Regions from separate parts of the Homo sapiens genome. Here region 2 is linked to region 1. Evidence: promoter capture Hi-C in human tissues and cell types (Jung and others, 2019). All regions are on one chromosome and are shown on one strand. The core of a region is centred on a gene start or on the middle of the fragment in contact, and the rest is flanking DNA. Distances in the headings are between cores, read along the strand shown. Region 1 holds the start of SHISA7 (shisa family member 7). Region 2 overlaps RPL28 (ribosomal protein L28).

Region 1 (6,843 bases), core at 2,628-5,127:
AGAGCAGGATCTGTGGAAAGGAAGGGGCTCCCAGACGAAGGAAACAGCACGTGCACAGGCAGGAAGGTGGAGCGTCTTGAGCATGAACTTGGAAGGTATGAAGGGAAAAGGAAAGGATGAGAAGAGGAGCTACTGGCAGAGTTGGGGTTTTATTCCAGGTGTGACAGGGAACCAGAATGCGGACAGGGGAGTGGTTGATGCCATTTGACGTGTTTCCTTTTTTTTTTTTTTTTTTTTTTTTTTGAGATGGAGTCTCACGCTGTCACCCTGGCTGGAGTGCAGTGGTGTGATCTCAGCTCACTGCAACCTGAGCCTCCGGGGTTCAAGCGATTCTCCTTCCTCAGCTTCCCGAGTAGCTGGAATTAAAGGCGCCCGCCACTGCGCCGGGCTCATTTTTGTACTTTTAGTAGTGACAGTGTTTCACCATGTTTGCCAGGCTGGTCTCAAACTCCTGACCTCAAGTGATCCGCCTGCCTCGGCCTCCCAAAGTGCTGGGATTACAGGCGTGAGCAACCATGCCAGTCCCTGTTACCTTTTTAATTGTGGGGAAATACACCATTTAACCATTCTCAAAGTGTTTGATTCGGTGGCATTAGCGTATCCATCAGGTTGTGGAGCCATCACCACTATTTAGTTCCAGGGTATTTTCCTCACCACACAAGGAAGCCTGGCCACCCTTTAGCGGTCACCCCCCATCCTCCTGTCCCCAGCTCCGGGCAATTATTAATCGGCTTTCAGTCTCTGTGGATTTGACTATTGTGATATTTCATATTAATGAAATCATACACTACATGAGATTTATGGCTGGACTTTTCCACTGAACGTCATGTCTTCAAGGTTCGTGCATGCTGTGGCTTGTATCTCAGCCCTTGGTACCTGTCACGGTTGAGTAATATTCTGTGGCATGGGTAGGCCGTCGTTGGTTTGTCCGTTCCTCCATAATGGGTGATTGCATTGTTTGCAGTATTTGGCTGTTGTGCAAGGTGCTGTTATGAACATTCAAGGATAAGGTTTTGTGTGGACACATGTTTTGAATTCTTTGGGGTAGACACTGCAGAGTGGAAGTGCATGGTAATCCTAGTTAACTTCTTTTTTTTTTTTTTTTTTTTGAGACGACGTCTCACTCTGTCAGCCCAGGCTGGAGTGCAGTGGCACGATCTCTGCTCACTGCAAGCTCCACCTCCGGGGTTCACGCCATTCTTCTGCCTCAGCCTCCCGAGTAGCTGGGACTACAGGCGCCCGCCACCACGCCCGGCTAATTTTTTGTAATTTTAGTAGAGACGGGGTTTCACCGTGTTAGCCAGGATGGTCTCGATCTCCTGACCTCGTGATCCACCCGCCTCAGCTTCCCAAAGTGCTGGGATTACAGGCATGAGCCACCGCACCCGGCCAACTTTTTTTTTTTTTTTTGAGACGGAGTCTCACTCTGTTGCCCAGGCTGGAGTACAGTGAGTGCAATGACATAATCTCGGCTCACTGCAACCTCCACTTCCGGAGTTCAAGCGATTCTCCTGCTTCAGCCTCCTGAGTAGCTGGGACTACAGGCGCACGCCACCATGCCCGGCTAGTTATTTTTGTATTTTTAGTAGAGACGGGGTTTCGTCATATTGGCCAAGCTGGTCTTGCAAGTGATCATATTGGCCAGGCTGACCGCAAGTGATCCGCCCACCTTGGCCTCCGAAAGTGCTGGGATTACAGGCGTGAGCCACCGCGCCTGGACCAATTCTAGTTAACTTTTTAAGGAACCGCCAAACTCTCTTCCACAGTGTGGGGTCAAGCCACTTCTAAGACTCCCATTAAACACCCAGGAGGAAGTGTCCAGTGGGCAGTGGGGTATTCTAGCACCGAGTCAGGGGAGGGGTCCAAGCTGGAGCTGAAAAGGAAAGGTGAGGCCCCAAGCAGGAGGGCGATGGAGCTCACTGAGGCTCTGGAAGGTTCACCTTCCAACCCTCTGCCCATCCCCACCAGCAGCAATGTTGTTGACAGTGGTGTGGTCCCTAGACACACACACGATGGATGGTGGCATATAATAGAAAATAACACCGAGTGATATTTATTGACTCAATCCCATCCACCCCCTCCATCCCTTTATGCTGCTTTCATTTCTTCACGGCTTCCTTCATCATTCCTTTTTATTTCTTCACAATTGGCGTCAACATGTGTCCCATTCATTTGTGTCCATCTGCTGACTGTCCCCCCTCACTAGCACGTAAACCCCCGTAAAGGCAGGAACCCTGTGGGCTTACTCACTGCTGCATCCTCAGCCCAGGGAGGCTGCTCAGGAGACATTTATTGAATGAAGATTTGCAGAACGAATGCACACCCCGCGCATCATGCCTGCTCCTGGGAAGCTCTATGGCAGCCTCTCGGCAGCTAGCTCAGGGCAGGGGCTGTTCAGATCAGGTTCTTGCAGAGAGGAAATGTAAGACTCCGTGGGCAGTCACCCCAGACCCCTGGGGGGTTCCTCCTGCAGGTAGAGCTCAGACGTTTCCTTCTCCCGGAACCCGAGGCCAGGCATCCTTCCCACCTCTATCATCCCTCTAGGTCCACGGGGGTGGGCGTGTCTGGGACTTGGCTGGACTGTTGCCATAGAAACAGCTGGAAGACGTGCCCACCACCACCACCACCAACTCCCACCTCTCTTCTGCATCACCTTTTCTCTCTCTTTTGAGACAGGGTCTCACTCTGTCAACTCAGGCTGGAGTGCGGTGGTGAAATCACAGCTCCCAGCAGCCTTGATCTCTGGGACTCAAGTTATCCTCCCACCTCAGCGTCCTGAGTACCTGGGACTATAGGTGCGCACGACCACGCCGGGCTAATTTTTTTTTTTTTTTTTTTTGTAAAGACACGGTTTTGCTGTGTTGGCGAGGCTGGCTGGTCTCCTGCTTGAGCAATTTGCCCACCTTGGCCTCCCAGAGTGCTGGGATTTACAGGCGTGAGCCGCCGCACCCGGACGACCCTTTCTCAGCCTGTATCTCCCTTCTGAAATAGCAGCAGCAGCAAACACTTTCATATTTCACCTGCAATATGCCAGGCACTGTTCTAAGCTCTTTACACATATTCCCTCAGTTCATCCTCCTGACCACTCAGAGATAACCATCCTTATCCCCATTTTACAGATGGGGGACTTGGGGCACAGGGAGCTTAGATAAGAGCCTGTCAGTGTCAGGCAGCTGGCAGGAGGTCCAGTCGGCAGGGGAACCACCCTGCTGTGGTTGTGGTTCAGCTGTGGACAGAGACCCTTCAAACCCGACGCCGTAACAGTGGTGTGTGTGTGCGTGTGCATGCCAGGGAGAGAGAGAGAGAGAGGGAGAGAGAGGGAGGGAGGGAGGGCACCTAAGATCCCTTGATTATCAGATCTAACTAAGGGAGAGAAATTGGCATTTCGGGGCACTGAGGACCATAGGGGTGTAAGTCAGTGGTTCTCCACGGGGGCAGCTGTGGCCTCCTCCCACCAGGGGAACATTTGGCAATGCCTGGAAACATCTTACATTGTCACAACTCGGGGGAATGTGGTGCTGCTGGCATGGAGAGGGCGCTGCTAAACATCCTACAGCGCTCAGGACAGGCGCTCACCACAAAGCAGCATCGGTCCCCGAATGTCAGTGTTGAAAAACCGTGCACTGCCTCTTCCCACTTGCCTGGTCTATAAACTCAAATTCTCAACTTCTCTCTCTCCTCCTCCCTCCCTCTCCTCCCCCTCCTCCTCCTCCCCTTCTTTTCTCCCTCCTTCCCCGTCTCCCTGACTCCTCCTTTCCCACCCACCCCTCATCTGTCTCGCTTCCTTCCCTCCCTCCGCGGTCCCCACTCCCCTCGCCACCCTCCCCTCCCCTTCGCGCGCCTCCCTCCAGCTGCCTCCCCTGCCCTCTCCTCTTCGCCGCCCCCGTTTCTTCTCCTTACATCGCGCCTCGCCTCGCTCCTCGTCCTAATGTCTGCACACCCCTCTGGTGTCTGTCGACCCTCCCAATCGCTTCTCCCGCATTCATCTCTCGCCTGATCCCGGTTCTGTCCGCCCATGCTCATTTCTCTCCCCCAGCCGTGCCCGGGCGCGTTTCCATTACTCTCCCATCGTCGCCCACCGCGCGTGGGGCGGCCAACTTGGGCCCACGCAGCTCAGCTCCCTCCGCCCTTCCTGCCTCCTGGCGCCTGTTGCTCCCCACACTCTGCCGCCCCCCGCCCGCCCTCCCCAGCCTCTCTGCCCACCCATCTCTACGTTTCTCACCCTCTGACCGTTTCTCTCCCGCCCAGCGCTCCAACCTCTGCTCTCGTTCTCCCCGCAGCCTGGCGGCCCAGTGCGACCCCCTGCAAGCCCCATGCCGGCCCTCCTGCTCCTCGTACTCCTGGCCTCTAGCGCCGGCCAGGCCAGGGCGCGCCCGTCCAACGCCACGAGCGCCGAGCCCGCGGGCCCGCTGCCCGCCCTGCTGGCGCACCTGCGGCGCCTGACCGGGGCGCTGACGGGCGGCGGGGGCGCGGCGAGCCCAGGCGCCAACGGCACCAGGACCGGCCCCGCGGGCGGGGCGGGCGCGGCGGCCCGGGCGCCCCCTCCCGCCGAGCTCTGCCACGGCTACTACGATGTCATGGGCCAGTACGACGCCACCTTCAACTGCAGCACCGGCTCCTACCGCTTCTGCTGTGGCACCTGCCACTACCGCTTCTGCTGTGAGCACCGTCACATGCGCCTGGCGCAGGCCTCCTGCTCCAACTACGACACGCCGCGCTGGGCCACCACGCCGCCGCCGCTAGCTGGGGGCGCCGGGGGCGCTGGGGGTGCGGGCGGGGGGCCAGGGCCCGGCCAGGCCGGGTGGTTGGAAGGGGGCCGGACTGGGGGTGCCGGGGGCCGCGGGGGCGAGGGCCCCGGGGGCAGCACAGCCTACGTCGTGTGCGGGGTCATCAGCTTCGCCCTGGCCGTGGGCGTCGGCGCCAAAGTGGCCTTCAGCAAGGCGTCCCGTGCGCCCCGGGCGCACCGGGATATCAACGTGCCCAGGTGCGTGTGCTCTCGGGCGGGAGGACTGCGAGCCTGGGGCGGGGCCCAGCAAGGGAGGTGGAGCCATCCGAGGAGGAGGGGCTGCAGGGATAGGGCGTGGTGGTCAGAGACCCAGGTGGCGGCCGCCGGCGTAGCTGAAGGTGGGCAGGGGCTGAGAAAGTCGCGCCAGAGCCGGCCCGGCTGTTGCGGAGTGATGCAGGGAGAGGGAGAAGCCCAGACTCTCATTCATTCGACACATATTTCTTGAGCACCTTCTGTGGGCCAGGAGCTGGGGATACACCAGTGAACAAAACAAGGTCTCTGCCCTGGTGGAAAAGCCTGACTTCCAAATCCAAGTTCACAGCCTACAGGCTATGTGACAGTGGATGAGTTGCTTAACGTCTCTGTTCCTCAGTTTCCTGTCCGCACAATGAGACTAATCATCGTCCCCACCTATTCGGATTGTAATTAACTGAGTTGATTCGTGCAGGGTCCTGGCACACGGTAAGGGCTCATTAACTATCAGTGGCCCAGTCCGTAAGCATGTGCAGTGTAATTTTAGATGACTGCTGTGAAGAAAATCAGCGGAAAGTGTTGAGAGAGAGGGCGCTGGATTAGAGGAAGTGATCCGAAAAGGCCTCTGAACGGAGACCCGAAGGGAGGGAGCGAACCACGCAGAGATCTGTGGGCGAGAGGTTTTGGGCAGGGGAACCGCGTGCAAAGGCCCTCGGTGGCCTGCAGGGCAGGGAAGCGCCCGTGCAGCTGGCGGCGGTGGGCAGCAGGAGGTGAGGAGAAGTAGGCGGGCCCGGGTTTATCCTAAGTGTGATGGGGCCACTGCAGGGTCCTGAGCTCGGGCGTGATGCCATCTGTCCATTTTTTAAATTATGCGGGCTGCGCGTGAGACTGGAGTGTACGGGGCTAGGGTGGGAGTGGGGAGACCCGTGAGGGGGCTGTTGCAATGATCCAGGTGAGAGATTGCAGAGGTGGTGAGTAGTGGTCTGATTTGGGATATGTTTTGGAGGTTCGATCCGTAGGATTGCTGAAAGGTATGAAGGTGGGGGAAAGAAGAGTCAAGGTGATTTAATGTTTGAGGTCCGCATCACTGGGTAAATGGAGCACCCTTTGTTGCCATGGGGAAGGCTGCAAAAGGAACGGGAATGGGGTCCCAGATTCAGGGTGGGGCGAGCCCACAGGGAAGTGAGAGGGACCACAGAAGCGATGGCTTCCACACGAGTTAAGGCAGCAGCGCTTCAAGCAGGAAGTGTGGCCTGAGAAAGGGGGTCATTCTAGGGGGCGTGGCCAACGAGAAAGGGGCGTGGCCAATGGCGAAAAAGGCAGGCTGAGTGACAGATTACCCAAGGGCGAGAGCAGGGAGCGGAAAGAAGCCTTCCTGGTACCCCTGCCACCCTCAGCCCCCAGGCCTTTGACCACCTCTCTGCCACCTTTAGAGCTCTGGTGGACATTCTGAGACATCAGGCGGGGCCTGGGACCCGCCCGGACCGGGCCCGAAGCAGCTCCCTGACCCCGGGGATCGGCGGTCCCGACAGCATGCCCCCCAGGACGCCCAAGAACCTCTACAACACCGTGAAGACCCCCAACCTCGGTGAGTGGAACGTGGGATCCGGCGCAGCCTCCGTCTCTGGCCACGCCCCTTCATCATGTAGCCCCGCCCTCCATGGCGGCTCCACCCCCATCGCCCAGGACCCGCCCTCACCCCCTACGCCCGCCTTGCACTGCCGGGTCCTGCCCTGCGAAAGGCGGACGGGGGCTAGGAACTCCGTAGAGAGCCAGACCCTCTCCTTGCCCTCCTGTGGACCCCCCTGGGTGGGGCTCCATGGGCACCTTGGTGATGTAGGTTTAGACATTCTCAAGCCCCTGCG
Region 2 (7,349 bases), core at 3,007-5,506, 49 kb after region 1:
ACCCTTCCTCAAAACAAACCGGGCACGGTGGTTCACCTGTAATCCCAGCATTTTGGGAGGCCAAGGCTGGTGGACCACTTCACGTTGGGAGTTCAAGAGCAGCCTGCCCAACGTGGCGAAACCTCATCTCAACTAAAAATATAAAAATCAGCCAGGCATTGTGGTGCATGCCCATAGCCTCAGCTATTCAGGAGGCTGAGGCAGGAGAATTGCTTCAACCCAGGAGGCAGAGACTGCAGTGAGCCGAGATTGCACCACCGCACTCCAGTCTGGGCAACAGAGTGAGACTCTGTCTCAACACCCCCGCCACTCCCCTCAACACACGCAACAAAATGTATAAAGAGTTCCTACAAACGAATAAGAAAAAAACATGAAAAATTGGCAAAAACACTTGAACAAGCACTTCACAACACAGGAAATCCAAATGGTTACTCAACACATGTAAAGGTACTCAACATCATTAGTAACTGGAAAAATGCAAATGTAAACCAAGATTGATGCCATTATACTCCTAGAAAAACAACAATTAAATCTGAGAATACCAAGTGTTGGCAAGGTGGCGGAGCACTAGGAACTCCTATAGACTCCAGTTGGAACAGTGAGATGGTAAAGCCCATTTTGAAACTTTGTAGTCAAGTCAAAAGAACTCAACTTATTACTCAACAACCTTTTTGGTTTCGGTTTGGTTTTCATTTACATCGAGGTTCCCTTTGTTTCTATTTCTTCACAACCATCCATGCCGGGGTAACTCCTTCCTGCGTCTCAAGCCCAAATCCCACTCTAGAAATTCACATTCCCATTTCTTTCTTTTTGTTTTTTTGAGACAGAGTTTCGCTGTGTCACCCAGCCTGGGGTGCAATGGCACAATCTCAGCTCATTGCAACCTCTGCCTCACAGGTTTCAAGCGATTTCATGCCTCAGACTCCCGAGTAGCTGGGATTACAGGCGTGTGCCACCAAGCTGGGCTAATTTTTGTATTTTTAGTAGAGACAGGGTTTCACCATGTTGGCCAGGCTGGTCTTGAACTCCTGGTCTCAAGTGATCCGCCTGCCTCGGCCTCCCAAAGTGCTGGGATTACAGGCATGAGCCACCACGCCCAACCTCACATTCCCATTTCTGACTCTATAGGACACAGGTTGTTTTCTTTAAGAAGATGCGGTATCACTATGTTGTCCAAGATGGACTCAAACTCCCGGGCTCAACTGATCCTCCCACCTCCCACCTCCCACCTCCCACCTCCCACCTCAGCCTCCCTAGTAGCTGGGACTATAAGCACGCACCACCATGCCCAGCTCTCATGTACTTGGACATACACAACAGGTTTAAAACATTTGTCCTGGCCGGGCGCGGTGGCTCACCTATAATCCCAGCACTTTGGGAGGTCGAGGCGGGTGGATCACAAGATCAGGAGATCGAGACTATCCTGGCTAACACGGTGAAACCCTGTCTCTACTAAAAATACAAAAAAATTAGCCGGGCGTGGTGGCGGGCGCCTGTAGTCCCAGCTACTCAGGAGGCTGAGGCAGGAGAATGGCGTGAACCCGGAAGGCGGAGCTTGCAGTGAGCCGAGATCGCGCCACTGCACTCCAGCCTGGGAGACAGAGCGAGACTCCGTCTCAAAACAAAAACAAAAACATTTGTCCCGATTACAAACAGCAGAAACATGCTTGTATATTTAAGAAACAATACCATACAGCACAAACATAATCAAAACTAAGCAAGTCACAAAAGATACTACAGCTTGAATGCCTTCATACACAATTCAAAAATAGGCAAAAATAAATTCTCCTGCTAAACATACATATGGTGGTGGTAAACTATAAAAGAAAACAAGGAGGCCGGGTGTAGTGGCTCACGCCTGTAATCCTAACACTTTGGGAGGCTGAGGCAGGCAGATGGCTTGAGCTCACAAGTTCGAGACCAGCCTGGGCAACATGGCGAAACCCTGTCTGTACAAAAAACACAAAAATTTTCTGGACGCTGTGGTGTGCACCTGTAGTCCCAGCTACTCAGGAGGCTGAGGTGGGAGGATGGCTTGAGCCTGGCAGGCAGAGGTTGCAGTGAGCCAAGATTGTGCCACTGCACTCTAGCCTGGACGATAGAGCCAGACCTTGCCTCAGAAAGAAAGGGAAGGGAGGCCAGGCACCGTGGCTCACACCTGTAATCCCAGCACTTTGGGAGGCCAAGGCGGGCGGATCACAAGGTCAGGAGATCGAGAACATCCTGGCTAACACGGTGAAACCCTGTCTCTACTAAAAATCAAAAAAATTAGCCGGGCGTGGTGGTGGGCACCTGTAGTCCCAGTTACTCGGGAGGCTGAGGCAGGAGAATGGCGTGAACCCGGGAGGTGGAACTTGCAGTGAGCCACTGCACTCCAGCCTGGGTGACAGAGTGAGACTCGTCTCAAAAAAAAACAAGGGGAGTGGAGGGGAGGGGAGGGATGGGGAGGGGAGGGGAGGGGAGGGGAGGGGAGGGGAGGGGAGGGGAGGGGAGGGGTGGGGAGGGGAGGGGAGGGGAGGGGTGGGGAGGGGAGGGGGGAGAACTTTCCTAAAAGTGAGAATACTGTTTACCTCCAGCCAGGGTTGAATACTTGGGTGGTTTGAGGGTCTGGTAGTCTTCCATTTCCTGACCTGGGTATTGGTTACATAGGTGTTTTATGATTTTTTAAGTGTATAAATACATTTTATGCACTTTTCTGTGTGTATGCTGTATTTCAGAATTTTTAATTTTAAAGTTTTTTTTTTTTTACAAGTTTACATTCTTGTTGTTCAGGCTGGAGTGCAGTGGTGCCAACATAGCTCACTGCAACTTCAAACTCCTGGGCTCAAGTGATCCTCCAATCTCAGCCTCCCAAGGAACTGGAACTACGGGTGCACACTACCACGCCCAGCTAATTTTTTTGTACAGATGGAATTTCACTGTGTTGCCCAGGCCGGTCTCAAACTCCTGGGCTCAAGGGATCCTCGCATCTCAGCCTCCCAAAGTGCAAGGATAACAGGCATGTGCCACCGCGCTCAGACAAAGGTTACTGTTAAGTCAAAAAAGCAAGGTGCAATATGCCTTGTATGGGACACTACCAGTCATGTAAGGAAGCCGGGGGCAAAAGAATACATATATAAATTTCCTTGCATTTGCATAGAATTTCTCCAGAAAAATACACGAGAACCTGGTAACATTGGTTGTCCCTGATCAAGGGAACTGGTTGTCCCAGATACAAGAATGAAAGGGAGCCATTTCATTATAGAAATTTTTATCTTTAAAATGAGAAAAAGAGGCTGGGCGCGGTGGCTCATGCCTGTAATCCCAGCACTTTGGGAGGCCAAGGTGGGCAGATCACAAGGTCAGGAGATTGAGACCATCCTGGCTAACACAGTGAAACCCCATGTCTACTAAAAATACAAAAAATTAGCCGGGTGTGGTGGTGGGCGCCTGTAGTCCCAGCTACTAGGGAGGCTGAGGCAGGAGAATGGCGTGAACCCGGGAGGCGGAGCTTGCAGTGAGCCGAGATGGCGCCACTGCACTCCAGACTGGGGGAGAGTGCAAGAGACTCTGTCTCAAAAAAAAAAAAAAAAGAGAAAAAGAAGGCCAGGCACAGTGGCTCACGCCTGTAATTCCAGCACTTTGGGAGGCCAAGATGGGTGGATCTCTTGAGGTCAGTTCAAGACCAGCCTGGCCAACATGGTGAAACCCTGTTTCTACTTAAAATACAAAATTAGCTGGGCATGGTGGCGCATGCCTGTAATCCCAGCTACTTGGGAGGCTGAGGCAGAAGAATCGCTTGAACCCAGGTGGTAGAGGTTGTAGTGAGCCGAGATCGCACCACTGTACTCCAGCCTGGGCGACAAGAGTGAAACTCTGTCTCAAAAAAATAAATAAATAAATAAATAAGAAAAGGAAAAAAAAGAAAGGCTAATATTCATCACATGGTATTCCAACTCTCCTTCCTTGAGACAAATGTTTGCATATTGTGACTATCCAGAGGCATTCGATGCATATACAAGCAAATACACATGCATCTTATTGTTTAAATATTTAAAAATATTTAACAGGAATGTTGGCATATCATTTACACTATTTGCAGGTTGCTTTTTTTCACTTAATATATTTTAGAGATTGGCCCAAAACATAAGCTTTTTCATGTTTTAAAAATTCTGGGTGGGGCCAGGCACAGTGGCTCACGCCTATAATCCCAGCACTTTGGGAGGATTGAGCCCAGGAGTTCAAGACCAGCCTGGACAACATAGTGAGATCGTGTCTCTACAAAACAATTTTAAAAATTAGCTGGGTGTGGCAGCACACACCTGTGGTCCCAGCCTCTCTGGAGACTGAGGTGGGAGGACTGTTTCAGCCCAGGAGTTCAAGGCTACAGAGAGCCTTGATCTTGCCACAGCACTCCAGCCTGGAAAACAGAGTGAGATTCTTTTTAAAAATATATATAAATAAATAGAAATTCTGGGCTAGGTGCAGTGGCTCACACCTGTAATCCCAGCACTTTTAGAGGCCAAGGCAGGAGGATCACTTGAGGTCAGGAATTCAAGCCCAACCTGGGTAACACAGTGAGACCTTGTCTCTACAAAAATATTTAAAACTTAGCTGGGTGTGGTGGAGCACACCGGTGGTGCCAGCTACTTCGGAGACTGAGGTGGGAGGATTGTTTGAGCCCAGGAGTTCAAGGCTGCAGTGAGCCGAGATTGTGCCACAGCACTCCAGCCTGAGCAACAGACCTTTATCTTTTTGTTTGTTTGTTTGTTTTTGAGACGGAGTCTCGCTCTGTCACACAGGCTGGAGTGCAGTGGCGTGATCTTGGCTCACTGCTACCTCCGCCTCCTGGATTCAAGCGATTCTCCTGCCTCAGCCTGCCAAGTAGCTGGGACTACAGGCGCACACCACCACATCTGGCCAGTTTTTAGTATTTTTAGTATAGATAGGGTTTCACTGTGTTAGCCTGGATGGTCTTGATCTCCTGACCTTGTGATCCGCCTGCCTGGGCCTCCCAAAGTGCTGGGATTACAGGAGTGAGCCACCGTACCCAGCTGAGACCCTGTCCCTTTAAAAAAAAGACTTGTAGCTGGGTGCAGTGGCTCACACCTGTAATCCCAGCACTTTGGGAGGCCAACACAGGCAGATCACCTGAGGTCAGGAGTTCGAGACCAGCCTGGCCAACATGGTGACACCCCCGTCTCTACTAAAAATACAAAAATTAGCCAGGCGTGGTGGCGGGCCCCTGTAATCCCAGCTACTTGAGGGGCTGAGGCAGGAGAATCGCTTGAACCCAGGAGGTGGAGGTTGCAGTGAGCTGAGGTCGCAGTGAGCCAAGGTCATGCCATTGCACTCCAGCCAGGGCGACAGAGCAAGACTCCATCTCAAAAAAAAAAAAAAAAAAACAAATTGGTGATTGGCAGGGCAGGGGCTAGAGGGGACATGAGTGGGAGTGGCTGCTTCATGGATACTGGGTGTCCATTCAGGATGATGAAATGTTCTGGAATAAGATAGGGGTTGTGGTTGCAAAGCTTTGTGAAGACTAAAAATCACTGAATTGTGCACTCTAAAAGCGTGGACTTTATGTTACGTGAATTATACCTTTTTCTTTTTTTGGAGACAGTCTTCATCTGAGCCTAGGGACCAGCTAGGAGCTTCAGGGAGGAGAGAGGCCTCAGAGATTACAGCCTAAGGAGGCTGGGGAGACTGGACAGGGCCAGATCCCGGGCCTTGCTGGCCCTAGAGAAAGGTTTGGGCTTTTATTCCTCATGGGGGTCGGGGGGGGGGGGGGGTGCGTCGGCCAAGGGAGGATGACAGGTCTCATTTATCATTTGTAAAGATCAATTTGCTACTGTGTAGAGAACAGCCTGGAGGGACAGCAGGGGAGCGGGCGGGTGTGGGAGGCCGGTGGGAGCTGGGGCCGCTGGAGGTGTGATTCAGACATGCTAGGGATGGCTGGGCCTGGGGGAGGGCCAGGTGTTCAAGAGGAACAGAGGAGAGGGGTGCTGGGGAGCCTCTGGGGGATTAGCCATTGAGGGGTGTGTTTAAATGAGTGGCTTCATCAATGCAGCGCTGATGGCCATCGAAAGGGGCCCGCAGCCTGTGTGTGCTGATGGAGAGACAGCCCAGTGCATTAGGGAAAAGGAGCAAGGGGGAGGTTCCTGTTGCCATGATCCAATCTGTGTAAGACATTAAAAGATGAGGCTGGGGCCGGACGCGGTGGCTCACGCCTGTAATCCCAGCACTTTGGGGGACCGAGGCGGACGGATCACGAGGTCAGGAGATCGAGACCATCCTGGCTAACACGGTGAAACCCCGTCTCTACTAAAAATACAAAAAACATTTAGCCGGGCGTGGTGGCGGGCGCCTGTAGTCCCAGCTCCTGGGGAGGCTGGGGCAGGAGAATGGCGTGAACCTGGGAGGCGTAGCTCACCCGAGGTCGCGCCACTGCACTCCAGCCTGGGTAACAAAGCGTGACTCCGCCTCAAAAAAAAAAAAAGATGAGGCTGGGTGCAGTGGCTCACGCTTGTAATCCCAACACTTTGGGGGACGAAGTCAGGAGGATTGCTTGTGCCCAGGACTTCAGGACCAGCCTGGGCAACACAGTGAGACCCTGTCTCTACAAAATATCTTTTTAAATTAGCCAGGCGTGGTGCTGCACACCTTAGTCCCAGCTACACAAGGGGCTAAGGCGGGACAATTGAGAGTGCCCAGGAGTTAGAGGCTGCAGTGAGCCGTGATTGCGCCACTGCACTCCAACCCAGGCAACAGTGAGACCCCGTCTCTTAGACAAACAAAAAGAGGAGATCTGCATGCATATGTGTGAAGTTTCCAAAAAGGAGAAGCACAGGTGGCTAACTTAGGGGCTGGGATTCTGAGATTTTCTTCCCCTGCATACTCTTCTTTCATTTGCAGTTTTTCAAGACCACATGCATATTTCATAATGAAAGATTTTAAAGTAGATGATTTTATTCTAGTAACTGGCTACAAGAGAAACAGGGGAATTGATACCATTCCTGGGCAGCGCCAAACAGCCTGGGCTGGAAATGCAGCTGAGGACAGAATGATATTCACAAACACGGGCAGGAGGCTGGGAAAGCTCACAGCCCCACAGGACGGCGGGGCAGACCTGGAGCCACCAGGCATTACTGCACATGGATCTGGCATGTCTTCCAGGTGCTTGGGAAACACGAGCATTAGTTTGTGTACAAATTAGTCATAGGCATGTGAAGACATCTGTGATCATGAGTCCATCTGATCAAAATATTTATAAAAAGTCATTAATTTATTCCTACAATCAGGATTTGTGGGCACAGTCAAGCAGGTTTTGCACATTTAATCTTCTCATCAACCCTGAGTAGTAGGGTCTA

What was found. The method cuts DNA at HindIII sites, captures the fragments that hold promoters and counts their contacts. A contact is called where the count stands out against the background at its distance.
Region 2: a fragment that was not itself captured here is called in contact with the fragment with the promoter of SHISA7 in region 1 in 2 of the 25 tissues and cell types used here (dorsolateral prefrontal cortex and psoas muscle).

The regions. Positions count from the first base shown.
Region 1 is chr19:55,440,334-55,447,176 of GRCh38, reverse strand. SHISA7 (shisa family member 7) reads left to right here and starts at 3,877. Exons shown (of 4, transcript NM_001145176.2): 1 at 3,877-4,984; 2 at 6,412-6,566. The coding sequence starts at 4,314. RefSeq lists silencers at 1-135, 4,974-5,063, 6,628-6,697 and an enhancer at 4,557-5,185. The HindIII fragment of the contact is 24,914 bases long and covers 1-6,843 here.
Region 2 is chr19:55,391,667-55,399,015 of GRCh38, reverse strand. It overlaps RPL28 (ribosomal protein L28), which reads right to left. Exons shown (of 5, transcript NM_000991.5): 5 at 6,931-7,349. Among named protein-coding and RNA genes, the nearest start is that of MIR6805, 7.2 kb to the right of the region's middle. RefSeq lists an enhancer at 544-643. The HindIII fragment of the contact is 6,942 bases long and covers 786-7,349 here.